2 separate regions of the Homo sapiens genome follow, and region 1 is linked to region 2. The links are contacts of gene promoters, found by promoter capture Hi-C in human tissues and cell types (Jung and others, 2019). All regions are on one chromosome and are shown on one strand. Each heading gives the region's core, a stretch centred on a gene start or on the middle of the fragment in contact. The rest is flanking DNA. Distances are from core to core; before and after follow the strand shown.

Region 1 (2,701 bases), core at 140-2,639, 63 kb after region 2:
TAAGTATACTGTTGAAGGTTAGTAGTTGGCAACTGGCTGAAACAGACCTCATGGTCAGTATTTGTTAAAAGTCTATGCTCATTCCACAATCCGATAAAGAAAAGGATGGTGTGAGTATCTGCTGAGGGGGTAGAGGAGCCCCTGTTTCTTGGGCCTGCACTCACTGTACTGTCATCTGGCATCTCTGAGGTCTCAGTTTCCTCATTGGAAAAGTGGAGGCAATCAGCCGGGTGCCGTGGCTCATGCCTGTAATCCCAGCACTTTGGGAGGCCGAGGCGGGTGGATTGCATGAGCTCACGAGTTTGAGACCAGCCTGGGCAACATGGCGAAACCCCACCTCTACTAAAAATACAAAAAATTATATGGGCGTGGTGGCGCACACCTGTAGAACCCAGGAGGTGGAGGTTGCAGTGAGCTGAGATCACGCCACTGCACTCCAACCTGGGCAACAGAGTGAGACTCTGCCTTAAAAAAAAAAAAGCATTTAATTGAAAATAAAAGTTTGTACAAATGTGCTAGGCTGGGCTCAGTAACTCATGCCTGTAGTCCCAGTACTTTGAGGGGCCAAGGAGGGAGGATTGCTTGAATTCAGGAGTTTGAGGCTGCAGTGAGCTGATTATGCCACTGCACTCCAGCCTGGGTGACAGAGGGAGACTTTTTCTCAAAAATAACAACTTGCCACCAAGCTTAAAAAAAAAAAAACCTAACAAAAATGTGCTATTAGATTAAGGAGTACCAAAAAGTGAAAGGTGTGCATAATTACAGATACATACAGTGTAGTTACAGATAATTTAAGGCCGAATGCAGTGGCTTACACCTGTAAACTCAGCACTGTGGGAGGCCAATGCAGGAGGATCACTTGAGCCCAGGAAGTTTTTTTTTTGAGACAGCATCTTGCTCTGTCACCCAGGCTGTAGTGCAGTGGTATGATGACAGCTCACTGCAGCCTCAATTTCCTAAGCCCAGGAGTTCGAGACCAGCAACATAATGAGACCCTGTCTCTACAAAAAATAATAAAAAATAAATTCAAAACAAAACAAAGATAAGATAATTTACATTAGTAGATAGTACAGAAATACCTGAAAATGTAAAGGCTTAAATACTGTAGTTGAAGACAGCAATAAAAAGTCAAAAGGAAGTTTTTTTTTCTCAAATGAGTGATATAAATAGTATCTTAAGAGGTAAAGGTTTTAACAGCTTGGAATAATTGGGGAATACTTTCTAGAGAAGGGCAAATTAAAAAATAATGTTTATGATGACCTGTTAGAAAACATACTAGGCACTTTACATAGATTATTTCATTTGATTCCACACCACAACCCTATGAGTGAGATGGTATTTAACCTCTTTTTTCAGATGAAGAAATGAAATTTACAGTTACTTGCTCATGCTCATATAGTATGTAAATGGCACAAGTAGGACCCAAACTCAATGTGTAACTCCAAGTATTTTTTCTTTCTCATCATACCTGAGTCTTGAGTATGTATATTAGAAATTGATTATACTCCAGATGGTAAAGTGTGGGAGATTTTAAGCATATAATGAGTATATCATTGTAACTGGAGGAGAAAGTTCAATCGTTATATGATTCTTGTAAAGATCTTACAGTAGATGTATACTTTTATTACTTTACGCCATGATCTTTAATCTTTTGTAAATATTGGTGTAAGGTATTCAGTTTTTTCCCTAGATGGATACTCAGTTGTCTTAAGTCCATTTACTGAATAATCCCCCTTTTCCTCTACTAATTAAACGAAAAGTTTTATTGGCCAGGCATAGTGGTGTGCGCCTGTAGTCCCAGCTACTTGGGAGGCTGAGGTGGGAGGATTTCCTCAGCCTGGGAGGCAGAGATTGCAGTGAGTTGAGATTGTGGCACTGCACTCCAGCCTGGGCAACAGAGCTGTCTCAAAAACAAAACCAAACCAAAACCTTTATTGAAATGTAATTTACATGCTATTAAATTCACCTATTATAAGTACAATTCAGTTATTTTTAATAACTGTATAGAGTTATACAGTTTTTTAAAATAACTTTAAGATATTGTTTTTCATAACTCTTAATTGAAGTTTTCTTGGTAGATGGTATGATTTTCATTTTATAATTCATGGCATAATCTGCATCTTATAAGCATTTTGCCCAAGACTTTGTGGCCAGTAAATGGCAGAACCAAGACTCAAACTCAGCACCTTTTAGAAGTATTAGCATGATAGTTGAGAACAAATTGTTGAGGATATGCTAATGTCAAACTAAGAAGTTTGGATTTCATCCTTTAGCGTGAGCATCGCCAGCATCTTCTCTGTAATGCCCTACTTGGCACTTGTAGCTGGGTACTTTTTGGAAAATGTCTTCTATGATGGAACTCTAGTCTCTGAAGATGTTCCATGTAGAAAGGGTTCCCTACTCAAGTAAATTTGGGAAGTACTCTGACTTCTTTTTGGATGATCACAGTTCACATTGTATACACACATCCTGGGAAGTTGTACAGTAAAGAAATGGGTTTACTTGTTTTTACTCATTTTCCCCCAGAATTTTCCAAGTTTCTTGACCATAGATGACCTTTTGAGTAACACTGCTCTAGTATGATGTTTTTGGAGAATTAGACTCAATTCATTAAGAGGGGTTAAGTCTGAAGAAGAAAATTAAGCTGCAGGATTGGATTTTTTTAAAAAGTAGGTTATAATTGTGTACATTTATCTGTTAA
Region 2 (2,700 bases), core at 128-2,627:
TACCTTTAGAAAGCCCATTATGCTTCTGAAAAATGCACTTACTACTTAATATCATACATAATAGAAAGCTAACATTTTGTATTAACGGAATCTGGAAAACATATTGTACTACACATTTGAAATTACAGATTTACTAACTAGTAAAGATAACTATTTAAGAACTAAAATGTCTTTGTTTTTCAACTCTTTTCCCCCGATTTCCATTTTTTACTTTTTATATTTCAGAATTATTTGTAACAAAAGCTATTGGATATAATTCCTGCACTTCTATATTGCAAGCATTTTCTCTATTTACCACAGAGACTTCAAGTCCTAGCATTTCAGAGCTGAAGGGGACTCGGACGGACTCCCTCACTGCACAGATGAGGACGCGGAGGCCGGGGGAGGTGAGTGTCAGTCCCAAGGTTGCAGACCTAGGACAGGGACCGGAGCTGCCGGGCACCCAGAACTCTGTCGCCTTCAACCCAAATTCGATTCAGTCCTCTCATCTTTCCAAATAGAAAGCTGACGCGAACCGATGGGAAGATTTTTTTTTTCAATAACAACTATGCTACCCAGCAGATTCTTTGGGGACAGTCCTCGGAGTCCTTGAAAACCCCTTTGGGGTTTATGCCAGGATAAGAAGAGACTAGAAGAAAGGGACAGCTAGTATTTTAATATGTAAATCTGTTTGCATAATATTTCCTAGGTAAACTATTCGTTGATCCAACCAAAATTCGGCGGGGCTGGGGGGTATCGTTATTGAGGATGACTCGCTCTAGGGGAGAACGCGGACGCATTTTCCCATCAGAGTTCCCTCCATAAATCAAAACCTCAAAAGAAGAGTTAAAGACGACACCCAGGTGTCTACAGTATCCAAGGGCCGGGCCAGGAGAGGTCCTTGGCCACCTGGCGCCGAGTTCGCGGCCGCAGACTCCCACGGACGGCCCAGCACCCGAGCGCGCGGGCCGAGCTGCCCCAGACCCGGCGCAGCGCCTCGGCGAGGCCGTCTGCGAAGTCCGGGCCGCCACTCGGGACCGCGGCCCGAGCCAGAGGAGAGACTTCGGAGAAGAGGGAAGAGGACGCGGGGTGGGAAACGCCGGGGCCGCAGGCAAGTAGTGGGCGAGTCCGGAGGGCGCGAAAGAGGGGAGGGGCGCGGGAGGCAATGGAAGGAGCGAGCGCGGGGAGGAGCGAGGCGGCTGGGCCGGAGGAGGCGCGCGCCCGGGTCCACACTGCGGGGTGGGGGCTGAGGGACCGCGAGGGGCTGCGAGCGAGCGAGCGGGGCCTTACCGAGCAGCGGCAGCTGGCCGCCGTCGCGCGCCAACGCCGGCATGGCCTCCGGAGCCCGGGGTCCCCAGGCCGCGCCGGCCCAGCCCTGCGATGCCGCCTGGAGCGGCGCGCCTCGCGCTGCAGGTGGCTCTCTTAAGGATGCGCGTCACCGACCGCAAATTCCCTCGGACTGGTGCAAAGTGGAAGGGGGGAGGAACCCTCTCCCCAGAGGCAGGGACCGAGGCGGGAGCGGAGAGGTTGGGCAGAGCCGAGCAGCCGGTGCCTGGCGCAGCGCTGCAGCCGAGCCCACGTGCCCGCCGCGGTCCGCAGCCTGTGCTCGGCGGCCCCCGGGGCTCCCCGACTGCGGCGGGGAAGATTGGGCGCGGTCCCGCCGGAGAAGTTGCACTGGCTCCGCGGCTCTGCCGCCTTGCTGCCCCTGTGAGTCCCCGAACTCTGTCGTTTGGATCCGGGGCGTGGGGACTGCAGGGAGCCACAAACCACCCTCCTAGTGCGCTGGGATCTTTGAGGCCCTGAGAAAGGCGCTGAATCCGCTCGGCACGCTGGCAACTCCCGCCAGCGCACAGGCGAGCATTCCATTAAGAACCATTCCATTCTTAATTGTGGACTGATTTCCTTTGTCTCTGCCTCCATCTCCTAGGATGCTCAGGACCCAGTCAGCGGCGGGATCAAGAAAAACAGGCAGGGTTTCAATGTCAACCAAGGCAATTAGGGAGGTTAACAAACAGCCTTCAAAACAAAACACACAGAAAATACATCCCAGAGGATGTTGCGAATCATCCGCTCAATAGTTCTTGTTCTTCATCGCATAATTTTTCGAGTTGAAAATTATTATTATTTTCTTTGCAATAAGTTGAGGATTGGAAAGCTCTGGATGCCAGTTCTGGTTCTTCCCTTACTTAACTAGCCGTTTGACCTCCACAAACCTCTGTTTACTCATCGTAAAGGAAAGGGATGGACCAAATGGTTCATAATGTCTCTCCCAATTCTAGGAATTCCACGCTCTTAATTATTTTAATTATTTTCTAATAAAGCATGAAAATTGACTGTTTACTCTTGGCCATACAGTTCTTTTCCTTAGATGTTGTCTACAGTACAATAATTCTTTCCCCTAGGGTATGGCAGAAACTTTAGAAGTGTCTACCATGGTGCAGCCACTATGGAAAACACTATAGAGGTTTCTCAAAAAATTAAAAAAAATACGGTCCAACAATTCCATTTCTGGCCATGTAGCCAAAAGAATTGAAAGCAGGGTCTTGAAGAGATGTCTGTACACCCGTGTTGAAAGCAGCATTATTCACAGTAGTCAAAAGGCAGAAGTAACCCATGTCCACAACAGATGAATGATAAACAAAAATGCAGTATATACATACGACTGAGTATTTTTCAGCTTTAAAGAGGAGGGAAATTCTGATACAGCTAAAATATGGATGA

The links. Contacts are between HindIII fragments. The study calls those that stand out against the background at their distance.
Region 1: a fragment that was not itself captured here is called in contact with the fragment with the promoter of FLT3 in region 2 in 1 of the 25 tissues and cell types used here (stomach).

The regions. Positions count from the first base shown.
Region 1 is chr13:28,162,179-28,164,879 of GRCh38, forward strand. All of the region lies in intron 1 of PAN3 (poly(A) specific ribonuclease subunit PAN3), which reads left to right. Among named protein-coding and RNA genes, the nearest start is that of PAN3-AS1, 24 kb to the left of the region's middle. The HindIII fragment of the contact is 8,119 bases long and covers 1-2,701 here.
Region 2 is chr13:28,099,199-28,101,898 of GRCh38, forward strand. FLT3 (fms related receptor tyrosine kinase 3) reads right to left here and starts at 1,378. Exons shown (of 24, transcript NM_004119.3): 1 at 1,270-1,378. The coding sequence starts at 1,312. RefSeq lists silencers at 1,212-1,371, 1,492-1,551 and an enhancer at 1,662-1,791. The HindIII fragment of the contact is 18,739 bases long and covers 1-2,700 here.